Linked DNA regions of Homo sapiens: region 2 is linked to region 1. Evidence: promoter capture Hi-C in 16 types of primary human blood cells and fetal thymus (Javierre and others, 2016). All regions are on one chromosome and are shown on one strand. Each heading gives the region's core, a stretch centred on a gene start or on the middle of the fragment in contact. The rest is flanking DNA. Distances are from core to core; before and after follow the strand shown.

Evidence for each region. Contacts are between HindIII fragments. The CHiCAGO score rates a contact against its expected background, and 5 or more counts as called.
Region 2: a fragment that was not itself captured here is called in contact with the fragment with the promoter of USP48 in region 1 in 5 of 17 cell types (naive CD8 T cells, activated CD4 T cells, naive CD4 T cells and 2 more); the score reaches 8.5 in naive CD8 T cells.

What each region holds. Positions count from the first base shown.
Region 1 is chr1:21,781,621-21,788,647 of GRCh38, forward strand. It overlaps USP48 (ubiquitin specific peptidase 48), which reads right to left and starts at 1,529. Exons shown (of 27, transcript NM_032236.8): 1 at 1,204-1,529. The coding sequence starts at 1,337. RefSeq lists enhancers at 213-262, 575-1,346, 823-922, 1,347-2,117, 1,863-1,912 and silencers at 1,293-1,652, 4,040-4,214. The HindIII fragment of the contact is 2,827 bases long and covers 189-3,015 here.
Region 2 is chr1:22,452,336-22,458,397 of GRCh38, forward strand. The region is part of intron 1 of ZBTB40 (zinc finger and BTB domain containing 40); the gene reads left to right. Among named protein-coding and RNA genes, the nearest start is that of ZBTB40, 3.5 kb to the left of the region's middle. RefSeq lists an enhancer at 1-6. The HindIII fragment of the contact is 9,659 bases long and covers 1-6,062 here.

The DNA.
Region 1 (7,027 bases), core at 279-2,778:
CTACTCCGGAGGCCGAGGTGGGAGGATCGCTTGAGCCTGGGAAACGGAGGTTGCAGTGAGCCGAGCTCGTGACACTGCACTCCAGCCTGTGTGACAGAGTGAGACCCTGTCTCAAAAACCACCAGAACTATTAGTAGTTTACATTATTTGGTTAGTCTGGAAACTAATTACGTTGAGAAACTGACTGAAGCTTGATTATTTCTATTATACACAGACTTCAAACATTCCAGAACTTACTGTTAAAGTCAGATTTACCCTCCTTGTGAGACAGACGCCCAGAGCTTGGACTTATTCGTTTGCTTTATAGAAACTCCCTAACTTATTTCACTTCTCATACTAGACTTTAAGCTCCAAAGCCAGAGACCATGACTTCCATTCCTTCCGGATCCCCCAGCGGAATGTAAAAACTCCAGAAAGCATTTCCTAAATGCCTGCCGAAAGACGGCTACTGAGCATGCCCGGCTTGGCCAAGTCAATTTCAACAACATTCTGAAACAAAAACTATAGTTCCCGCGTTACAAGGTGGAAAAAAGGGAATAAACGGGAGCAAAGCCTAAGGATTCAATCTATATGAGGGGGTTAAGGAAAGGTAAAGTTCAAGGGCGGCGCAGACGTGAAGGACAGCACTATCACAGCTTAAACTTGGTACTCGGTAAACTGGTGTCGAACCAGAACGACCAAAGAAAGGCTTAAAAAAAATACTAGATTAACGAGTGAGGGAAGGCCAACGGGGGTGCAGGGTATCGATGACGTAGGCTGACCACAGTTTTTTCTAAAGCTGCCCTCTACAAAAATAATACTAAGATGATCAGGCCTTCGGTGTCAACACCAACAAGATACACTGTGATGAAGCTCACTTCCAAAAAGTTCCTTTTTACAAACGAAAGAGCCGTGCTGTGGCCAAGATACCCCAACCATCAACGCTTGCTAAGCTCTCAGCTCCTGCCTTCATCTCCACCGCCATCTTCTGGATGGGAACCCAAACCTTCCTAAAGTGCTTTGGCCAGCATCACCTCCGCGCACAGCCCGGGAAGCCTGCGTTTCCCAGGTCGCGCAGACGGCGCAAAGGGGGAAACTCCACCTCGCTCGGCTCCGCGCCTCCCAAATGCACGCAAAGGGCTGCCGTCTTCCTTTCCCCTACCCCGCCCGGGCTTTCCAAGGTCCGGCGCGAGGAGCCCGCGAGGCGCGGTGCGCGGGCCTCACCTGCACACGCCGCGAATGCAGGGCTCCAGCCAGATGCGGTAAGCGGTCTCGATGTGCTCCTGCGACACCTCCTCGGGCCGCACCGTCTCCGCCCAGCGCCAGGCCGCCTTCTCCAGCTGCAGCCGCGGGGCCATGGCCTTGGCCCCAGGAACGCCTCCCGAGCCAGACCGCCGCAGCCGCCGCCGCGGTCTGCACCGCCGCCCCAATGGGCTTCGCCACCTGCCAGCAAGGAGGACCTGGCGCTCCTTCAGGCAGCTGGCCAGTCAATCACCTGTGCGCGCCACTGCCGCCGCGCCCGCCCGCGCCCGACCCGCACGACCGGCCGCAAAGCGCCGCCGTCGACACCCGACACACCCCGCGCCCGCGGACGTTAAAGGTGGACTCCCCGCCGCGCTGAGCGCATGCGCGTTCCCAGCAGCCTCTGCGCCTCCCGCGCCCCTAACCCGACGGGCTGAGGTAGAGGAAGCGTACGTCCGAGGCGGTCTTGCCACGTCCTCACTGGCACTTCTGGAAAAGCAGCGTCTCAGCCCCCGTTCAGGGCGGCGCACTACGTACCACTACTCTAACAAACCAGTGCCTCGAAAGCTATTTCTTGCCTCCGGTACTTCCCTTTTAACCATGAAGTTTTCACGCTAGAGGCTACTCAACGCACACACAGGCCCGCCCAGACTGTGGAGCGGGACCTGTTTAGAGTAGAAACCGAGTCGCCAAAGAAACCAGTGTTGGCTCTTTAGAGGGAGATTTAACTTGAGCCTAGACCGGTTCCGAACCCCTTTCCCGAGCCCTCCTGACGTCATGGGACCTTCCGGCCTTTTCCCGTGCTAGGGTGGGACTACGTGTCCCGGCATGCCCTGCGTCCTGCCACTGACTGTGAGGCATGCTGGGATTTGTAGTCTTCGAGGTGGGAGTGCTCAGTGCGCCGCAGACTGTGCGGGCGGGGGTCCGAGGTGCCAGGGTGGAGTTTCTCTGGTGCGCAAGGTCATGTTTGCTGTTGGCTCCCTTCTCAAGACTGTTACCTCTATGCCAGGATTTTCTAGTTCCTCTCTAGCTCCTGGTTTAAAACATTTCCTTTCTGCGACTCCTGCCCCAGGACATAAAGAGTAGCTTTATGAGAATTGTTTTGCAAACTGTAAAGAACTCTACTAAAGTGAGGATATTTAAGAATTTTGAATTTGAATTAGAGCTCTGCCAGAATCTAAGCGCTAACTTCTGACTCAGCTGCTTGCCTGCTGGAAAACCTTAGGCTGAATTCTTTAGATAAACATTCACTGGGCCGAGCACCGTGGCTCAAGGATCCAATCCCAGCACTTTGGGAGGCCGAGGTGGGCGGATCACCTGAGGTCAGGAGTTCGAGGCCAGCCTGACCAAAATGGAGAAACCCCGTCTCTACTAAAAATACAAAATTAGCAAGGCGCGGTCGCGCATGCCTGTAATCCCAGCTAGTCGGGAGGCAGAGGCAGGAGAATCGCTTGAACCCGGGAGGCGGAGGTTGTGGTTAGCCGAGATAACGCCATTGCACTCCAGCCTGGGCAACAAGAGTAAAACTCCGTCTCAAAAAAAACAAAAAAATTCGCTGAAGGCAGAAGAAAGTAAGATGTGGTCCCTGCCCTTGGAAGTGGGTTAGGGAGTGAGCGGTAGAAATACAAAGATCCCCATCCCAGTCTTGGGAGGCTTCGGGGTACTTGAGAAAAGGCTTCCCAGAAGTAATTCCGAAGCCCGCTTTTAACGGGTGAGTTGGACTTATCCAGGATAGAAGAAAGACACCATTCCAGAAAAAAAGAAACCACAAGGAGCAAAGGCACAGAAGAGAAAAGCTTGGCGTGAGAGGGCCACAATTTCTGAGACAGGGACAGGTGAGAGTTATGGCTTGAAAGGAAGACCTTGCCGCCGGGCGCGGTGGCTCACGCCTGTAATCCCAGCACTTTGGGAGGCCAAGGCGGGCGGATCACGAGATCAGGAGATCGAGACCATCCTGGCTAACACGGTGAAACCCCCTCTCTACTAAAAATACAAAAAAAATAGCCGGGCGTAGTGGCGGGCGCCTGTAGTCCCAGCTACTCTGGAGGCTGAGGCAGGAGAAGGGCGGGAACCCAGGAGGCGGAGCTTACAGTGAGCGGAGATCGCGCCACTGCCCTCCGGCCTGGGCGACTGAGCGAGACTCTGTCTCCAAAAAAAAAACAAAAACAAAACAAAACAACAATAACAACAACAATAAAACAACAATAACAACAAAAAAAAAAACAAAAAAAGGAAGACCTTTATTCAAAGTACCCACTGAAGATATACAGCTGTTGAGTGCTATAATGGAGATTTGCATTTTGTATAGTGAGGCAGAGAAGACTTTTTTTTTTCCTGAGACGGAGTTTTGCTCTTGTTGCCCAGGCTGGAGTGCAATGGTGTGGTCTGGGCTCACTGCAACCTCCGCCTCCTGGGTTCAAGCGATTCTCCTGCCTCAACCTCCCAAGTAGCTAGGATTACAGGCTTTTGCCACCACGCCCGCCTAATTTTTTTGTATTTTTTAGTAGAGACGGGGTTTCACTATGTTGGTCAGGCTGGTCTCGAACTCCGGACTTCAGGTGATCCGCCCACCTCGGCCTCTCAAAGTGCTGGGATTACAGGTGTGAGCTACCGCGCCTGGCCTCCTCCCCTTTTTAGACCATATAGGGTAACTTCCTGACTTTGCCATGGCATTTGTAACCTGTCATGCACTGGTGGGCATGTCTTTTAGCATGCTAATGTATAATAATTAGCGTATAATAATTAGCATATAATAAGCAGTGAGGACGACCAGAGGTCAGTCTCATGGCCATCTTGGTTTTGGTGGGTTTTAACCAGCTTCTTTACTGCATTCTGTTTTCTCAGCAATGTCTTTATGACCTGTATCTTGTGTAGACCTCCTATCTCATCCTGTGTCTAAGAATGCCTTAGGCCAGGCATGGTGGCTCATGCCTGTAATCCCAGCACTTTAGGAGGCCAAGGTGGGCGGATCACGAGGTCAGGAGTTCGAGATGAGCCTGGCCAACATAGTGAAACCCTGGGTCTACTAAAAATACAAAAATTAGCCAGGCATGGTGGCGGGCACCTGTAATCCCAGCTACTCAGGAGGCTGAGGCAGGACAATTGCTTGAACAGGAGGCGGAGGTTACAGTGAGCCAAGATCGTGGCATTGCACTCCATCCCAGGCGACGGTGGGAAACTCAGGCAAAAAAAATGTCTTCACCTCCTGGGAATGCAGCCCAGTAGGTCTCAGCCTTATTTTACCCAGCCCCCATTCAAGATAGAGTCACTCTGGTTCAAACGCCTTGGACAGAATGAGGACTTGCTACAGCTTGATGATGTTGACCTGACCGGTATATCTTCACCTTTCTGATATTTGACCTTCAAGTCTGGTCACACCCCTTTCCTCAGTATCCACAGCTCCCTGTGTCATCCCTTGCTTCACTTAGCACATGATGAAATTGTGACTATCATTCACCATGAAGACACTACTATATGGCAGTTTTCTAAATTGGATAATTAAATAGAATTTCTACCAAATGAGATAGCAACACCAGAAGAAGGAACAGATTTAGAAAGAAGATGATTTCGGCCAGGCACGGTAGCTCACGCCTGTAATCCAGCACTTTGGGAGGCCGAGGTGGACAGATCATCTGAGGTCAGGAGTTCGAGACCAGCTTGGGCAACATGGTGAAACCCTGTCTCTACAAAAATACAAAAATTTGCCAGGTGTGGTGGTAGGCACCTGTAGTCCCAGCTACTCAGAAGGCTGAAGTGGAGGGATTGCTTGAGCCCAGGAGGTCGAGGTTGCAGTGAGCAGAGATCTCACCACTGCACTCCAGTCTGGGCGACAGAGGGAGACCCTGTCTCAAAAACAAACAAACAAAACCCAAATGTGCTAATTTGCTGTAATTTCTCTGAAGTTTAACAAACCCTCTCTTGACTCCCACATCCCCCTCCAGCTACTGTCCCATTTCTCTTTTTCCCTTTATAGCAAAACTCCTGGAAAGCATTTTCTGTACTCTTCTCCAGTTCTCCTCCTATTCCTCCTTAAACCTCCCAAATCAGGTTCTTGCCTCTATCACCTCCAAAACTGCTCGTATGAAGAATGCCAATGGCCTTCACCTTGTTAAATGCAGTGGTAAACTCATACTCTATTTATTTTACTAGACCTGTTAGCAGCAATTGACCCAGTTATTCACTCTTTCCTCTTAGAAACACTTTCTTCTCTTAAATCACAGGGTGCCACACTCTCCTGGTTTTCTCTTTACTGCTGGCCATCCCTTCCGGTGTCCTTTGCAGCTTCTTTCTCCTCTAACCTGGAAACTTGAGTGGCCTAGGGTTCAGTCCTTTGGACCTCTCCTTTAACTTTGTTTACTCCCTGGGGGATCTTGTTAGAAATGCTTGTTCCCCAGTGCCGTAAAGAAGTAGCACTTACGGCCGGGCGCGGTGGCTCACACCTGTAATCCCAGCACTTTGGGAGGCCGAGGCAGGCAGATCATGAGGTCAAGAGATCAAGACCATCCTGGCCAACATGGTGAAACCCCGTCTCTACAAAAAATACAAAAAATTAGCTGGGCATGGTGGCACACGCCTGTAGTCCTAGCTACTCAGGAGGCTGAGGCAGGAGAATCGCTTGAACCTGGGAGGCAGCGGTTGCAGGGAGCCAAGATTGTGCCACTGCACTCCAGCCTGGCGACAGAGCGAGACTTCATCTAAAAAAAAAACAACAAAAAACAAATAGCACTTGAACATAAATTTAACATCCTCAGCAAGGCCATTTTTACTTTCTGCAGAAAGGGTACACTCGCCAGCAGTTTTGCCAGTAGAGTACACTGAACAAACAGGACAGGGTCATTTATAACCTGAAGCGTCCACCCTACTGCTGTGTCTGACTTCCATTGGCTGGAACAGGACCTCACATTCTATATTTGTCCTGATTGGCTAGCAACTTAGAACTTTTTAAAAGAGGCAAAGGCTGGCTGGGTGCAGTGGCTCACACCTGTAATCCCAGCACTTTGGGAGGCTGAGGGGGGCGGATCACCTGAGGTCAGGAGTTCGAGACCAGCCTGACCAACATGGAGAAACCCTGCCTCTACTAAAAATGCAAAAAAAAATTAGCCGGGCGTGGTGGCGCATGTCTGTAATCCCAGCTATCGGGAGGCTGAGGCAGGAGAATCGCTTGAACCTGGGAGGTGGAGGTTGCGGTGAGCCAAGATCATGCATTGCACTCCAGCTTGGGCAACAAGAGTGAAATTCTGTCTCAAAAAAAAGGAAAAAAAAAAGCAGAGGCAGAGGCGAACAAGGGAAGTAACCTGTGGAATGCTGAGAAAGGTAAAAACACCTTTAAATAAGGAAGAGGAACAGGCTATGACTCATGCTTGCTTGGACCAGTGTAAGCATGCCAGGGCAAATATTTAGGCTAAATTGTGGGAGCTAAGAACATAAAGTACATTGATTTCTTTATTACGGCTAGCAGATATTTAAGAATGTTAGCACAGGTCTTTGAATACATTTTGAGACGGAGTTTCACTCTTGTTGCCCAGGCTGGATGGCGCAATCTCCGCTCACCACAACCTCTGCCTCCCGGGTTCAGGCGATTCTCCTGCCTTAGCCACCCGAGTAGCTGGGATTACAGGCATGTGCCACCATGCCCGGCCAATTTTGTATTTTTTTAGTAGAGACGGGATTTCTCCACATTGGTCAGGCTGGTCTTGCACTCCTGACCTCAGGTGATCCGCCCACCTCAGCCTCCCAAAGTGCTAGGATTACAGGCGTGAGCCACCACGCCTGGGCTGAGAAGTAACTATTTATTCCTAATTAGATG
Region 2 (6,062 bases), core at 3,162-5,661, 670 kb after region 1:
CCCCTCCCTTCAGGTCCCTTCGCCGGGCGTCAGCGGACTATGGCCTTGGGCCTAATCCATGCCCCCCTTCTCTCTTCCCCTCTCGGTCTTTGTTTACAGTTGCAAATGGTTAGGGGGAAGAATATTTCATGTAATTTGCGAAAGTTCTATGAAATCAAGTCCATAAATGAAGTTTTATTGGAACACGGCCCTGTTCATTGTTGATGTATTGTCTATGGCTGCTTTCCTGCCAAGAGGGCAGAGCTGAGTAGTTGCGCAGCCGTTGCTTGGCTTTGATCGGCTGGCTCACAAAGCCAGAAATATTTCTGTCTGGTCCCTTACAGCAAAAGTTTACTGACCCCTGCCCTAAACACAAGGAGATTGGATCAGTGTTGTCATTCAGCTATTCCTCTCGTCGGTTCTTCTGGAGTGGGAAAAGAGTTAAAACTGCGCGATGCACCGAGAGCACTTTAGTTGACAGAACACTCTGGCTTCCCTTCTGGTCTTACTGACTATTCAGAGTTTCTCCTGCTTTGAATAGCGTTGGTACCATGCAGCCAGTGCTGCAATGAACCAGGTGCTTTATTTATATTCATACAAGTGTTGTTCTACTTTATGACGACGCTTTATAAGTAAGTATGGTATTTCCATTTTACAAACGAGGAAGAAATTTGTTCTGAGTGGTTAATATATGTATAGGTGTACTAGGTTATAGGGCTGCCAAATTGAGCCTGTCCCTGGGAGCCCCCTGCCTGATGGCACCGGTCAAACTGCTTTGGATTTTATTCTTTCAAGTCTTTTCTACCTGGAATTGTTTGTTCTTCCCTGGAATTGTACCCAGATCTTTGTATGGTTAATGGAGATTTAATTACAATCTCAGTGAAATTTTTTTCTACTTAGCTAAATCATCAAACTTCTGCCCCTCCTTTCTAATATAAACACTTTTCTTCTATGTCAGTAGTCCCCAAACTTAGCTATTCATTAGTGGTTTAACAAATGGTTTCAGAACACCCCATGCATGTACGCATGCATTCATTAATCATTTAGTGTTTGTTGAGCACTTACTGTGTACCAGAGACGTTTCAAATTCCTGGAAATACAGTGGTGAACAAGACAAATATGATTTCTGCCCTTCCATGGAATTTAAATTCTATGTGGGGCTTGGACAAGTGGTATACAGGTAGACAAAGATAATTTCAAATACAGCTGTAATAGCATCATCATAATAAAATTATTAGTTGCTATTTACTGAGTGATTATTTTGTGCCAGGTACTGTGCTAAGTGCTTTATTTATATGGACTATCACTTAATCCTCACACCAATACTATGACATAAGTAGTATTAATATTACCATTTTACGCATAGAGGAAACAAACTCACGTCGGAGAGATGTTCGAGGTTACATAGCTAAGGCATTCAGCTGAGAGCTGAAGCTAATCTGATCACACTGAACACCCTGTATTGTTCCATCTGTTTATTGTCTTTCCTACTAGCTTAGGAGGTCCTTAAGGGCAGGGACCACACCTTACTGTTGTTATCCTCAGCTGCTAGCCAGTACCCACAACCTGGTGTTTGCAGGTAAATACCAAGTAAACAAATCTAGGTCATTCATTGAACAAATTTTTATTTTATTTTATTTTATTTATTTTTTTGAGACAGAGTCTCGCTGTGTTGCCCAGGCTGGAGTGCAGTGGCACAATCTCGGCTCACTGCAACCTCCGCCTCCCGGGTTCAAGTGATTCTTCTGCCTCAACCTCCTGAATGGCTGGGACTACAGGCATGTGCCACGACACCCGGCTAATTTTTTGTGTGTTTTTAGTAGAGACAGAGTTTCACCATGTTGTTCAGGCTGGTCTTGAAGTCTTGACCTCAAGTGATCTGCCCGCCTCAGCCTCCCAAAGTGCTGGGATTATAGGCGTGAGCCATCGCGCCCGGCCTCGAACAAATATTTTAGTGTCTCCATGTACCAAGCACCACTGTCTAGGTCCTGTGATTACCAGGGTGAGCAAGATGGACCTGGGGCTCTGTTCTGGAAGCTAAAGCCTAGTGTCAAGACAGTAAAGAAATAACAAAGTTATTCCAAATTGTGGCAACTGCTCTAAAGGAAATAAAACAGCACGGAGAGAGACACTAACCTGGGAGACTCACTTTTTATCTGGGTGGTCAGGGAAAACCTCTCTTAAGAAAGGCAGTTTAAGCTGAAACTTGTTGAGTGACAAGGAACCAGTCTAGCAAGAAGGGGAAAGGGAGAGACGAAGCTGGGAGGAAGAACTTTTCAGCAGGTTCAGAGACTAAGGTGGGTAACAACGTGAGATGTTGGAGAACTCAAAGGGAGTCACTGTGCTGTGGTTCACTCCTGTGCTCAGTCCCTGGCCGTGAACCCAGCTACTACTGAGAGAACTGCACGCCCAAGGGCAAGTTACAGATTAGTTATCTGACCTGGAAAATGTGGATAATGGTGCCTCCTCAAAGGGTTGTGCAGATTAAATAAGAGAAACTGTATTCATAGCTATGGTATTTTCTTTTTGTTGTTGTTACACATATTGCTGAATAACCAAATTTAGCTCCAAATGGAAACTTTATAAAGTGCTAACTAATAACAAAAATCCAGAAATACATTACAGACAAAATTAAGAATGGGGGAATCCAATTAAAAATAGAAGCCCTCTACTTTCTATCTCCAGAAAGAGGGGAGCAGATCTTGTTTTTTCTTAGTGTTTCTGCTTGGAGAGGAACTTTTCCAAATGGCATCTAATTTTTTTAAAGCCAAATTGTACAGCTGTCTATGCAGAACACTTTTCAGCATTTTAGTGTTTTAAGTTGGAAACTACTTATGTTCCTCCATCAAAGGTGTATGTATTCTCTTAAGGCATTCTAAACAAATGTTAGACTTTTAGTTGGTGGCGATTTAAAAATTTGTTTGTGCATGATTTCAAGTTTCCTCCAAAAGTTTTCAAAATAATGTCACATACTCTAAAACAGTATTGAATGCTTTGAGGCAAATGGCAGGCTTTTTGACTAAGTAAAAATAGGATAATGTTCGGGTTCATAAATGTAAGAAATTAGAAGCAATAATAAATCAAGGGAACTATGTAAGAAGAACAGCATGGCAGGTTTCGCTTTAAACTCTCCCTAGTAACCATATTGCACATGTCATCAGAAGACACATTCTAACCCTGCAAACGGAGCAAAGAACTGGACAGAGAGTGTCATTTAATGCAATGTTAAACAACAAGCCCTGAATTAAATTGCTATTTTAGGTTTGGGTGGGACCTTTGCATCTAAAGTATTGCAGTTTTACTCTGTGATTTGGGTCTGTTGGGTTCCAGTAAAGAGCAGGTGCTAACACTAGCTTTGAAGGATAGTATGAAACTGCAAGAAGAGCCAGGGCATACCAGTTTGTTTTTCAGTCTATTTTATTTCAGTTCAAAGCATCATTGCAGACAGGCAGCCCCGGAAAACGAGCCACACTTTGGCAACACTCACCTGCTTTTGGAGATTGAGGAAGACTGAGTATAACCCAAGTGTGGCTTGTTTTCTTGGACTATCTGTCTGCAATGATGCTTTGAACTGAAATAAAATAGATTGAAAAACAAATTAGTATGCCCTGTTGCCTCGTACTGAGTATTTACATTACCCTTCTCGAGTACTGCCTGAACCAGCACCCTGAGGGAAGGCAGTGACCCCTCAGCCTCTTTCAACTCTTCAGCAGAGTGAGCTCTTTGATTTTCACAAGGAAATTGAATTGGGATATATGGTTTTCTGGATCTCCAATAGTCTGCCTTCCAAAGCCATCATCTGGATAATGTGGAGAAAGCAAGCTACTAACCACATAGAGGAAAGAATTAAATATTAAGGGCATTTAAATTGAGAGATGAGATTGTCACTTTCTGTAAGTCTAGCAGAGAGTGCAGTATTTCATTTGCAGGGAGCATGCAGTTTTGAGACTCTGGCAGCCCTCGAGAGAGAAGGATAAGGAAAGAAAGCCAGCTTTCCTTACATTTCCCTAATGTTGTTATTTAACTCCAAATCCTCAAAATTATGATGCCACGTATTTCATTTCCTTACATAAATGTATTATGCTGATCCATGTAAGTCAGAGATTGTTAATCTCAGGGTAAATGGTTGAATTTCAAGAGACCCATGAATCCTTTGAAGTTGCCTGCAAATTTGTGTGAATGTCATTTTTTCTGGGGAGAGAGCCAGTTACTTTAATCTGATCTCAGAAAGGCCCTTGACCCTTTAAAAGGTGCAGAACCAACAATGAAACATCACATGTAACATCACCTAACTGAAGGCGCGATGAGAATCTCCCCTGAAACCAGGTACTGTTTCACTGCTCTGTAACCTTAATCTCAGATTTTAAGTCTTTTCAGGCTTTGTTTTCTGTCTAAAGTGGTCAAGCATAGTTGAATGTTTGTGTAACATAGATATCTGCCCATTGAACTGCTTCATAAATGCCTTACAGATGGTTGTTGTTAATTTACATGAGACTGGTGAGATGTGGACCTATTGTCTAGGCAACCTCGTTAGCAGATATCATAACTGTTTCTACTGATAGAGGAAAGGAGGAGGTAGTGGAAGCTCACTGCTTTGTTTCTAGGCATCAGCTTCTTGCAGATGGAGTCAGTTCCTCAGACTTAACGAAGGCTGGGTTAAAAGGGAAAGAAGGCTGGGCACAGTGGCTCATGCCTGTGATCCCAGCACTCTGGGAGGCTGAGGCAGGAGGATCACTTATGCAAGCCCAGGAGTTGAGGCTGCAGTGAGCTGTGATCAGACCACTGCATTCCAGTTGAGACCCTGTCTCTATTTTTTTTTTTTAAAGGAAAGAAGAAGAGGGGAGGGGATAGACTTGAGGAAGCAGAGGATTAAAGAAAGAAAGGCTGTTTCCCTGCATTTGTCCACAGAGTCCCCTCTCTTTATCTCTGTGAAAAGAAAAAGCTGCTATATTGAGGCAAAACCTATCTCAGAATTTAACTAATACTTGGACTTCTGAAAAAGGCAATTCATAAATGTAATTTCTGGTTTTATTAGTACCCAAAGGGAAACAAAAACAAGGAAATATCTTTATCTTAGGATATTCTGTAAAACTGGGACCTCAATAGAAAACTCCTATAGGCCAGAGTTTGGCTCATAGAGTGTTTAAAAAGTAGTTACTTCCATTTAAGCATTAGAGATTTTCCATCTGTCTGACCCCTGGAGGCGTTTGCATGAGCGACCTCTGCTGCAGGCACTAGCGTGGTTCTGGAACAGGACCAAACAGTAGAGGATGCTTTATGCAAGAAATGGGCCAAGAAGGATGAGGAAATTAGAAACAAAGGATTATAACTGTAAATAATAGGTTTTCAGGCTCCAAATATTGGTTATTTGTTGGTTAATATTTGTTAGCTAGTGTTAGCTATAGTGGGGTTATTTTTAGCATAAAAACAAAGGTGAACGGTAGGTGATTCTATTTCTTATTTTGAGAAAATACTGTAAGAGGTAATCTAACCTGCTAATTTCGTCCTATTTCTCAGCTTTCTAGGACTGGGGCCTGACCATTGAGTCTTCCTGAGTTTTCCTTCTTGACTCCTTTTGCTCCTTGTCCCCATTAGCTCCAGAAGATGGTCTCCAGGGCATTGGCAGCAGTGAATTTGCCATCTTTCTTCCACCTGGTACTTCTCCCTGGTTCTTAGGCTCAGTGGATGGCACCACAGAGTTGCCAAAGGCAGAAACCTGGGAATGGTGCCATGATCTTCTCTTTCAGCACATATTTAGTTAGGCTACAGGACTGTTGATTTCTTCTACCCTTTCTCTTCCTTTGGTTAGAGTTGCTATAATCTCTTGTCCTGGATTATGAAACAGCCTTCTAGTTGGTCAGTGGCTTTCAGCTTCATTCCTCTCCAATCTATTTGGTACACTGTTACCAGTGGTCTTTATAAAGCACAGATCGGAATATGTGATTCCCTTGCTTTAAAACTCTTGGATGGCTTGCCTGCCCTTAGGATGGTCCAGCAAGTGCTACCCTCCAACTGTGGCTGTGCCTGTCTCTCAAGCCTCTGAGCAGCCCCTCCTCCCACAATTCACCTTATATTGAGCACCA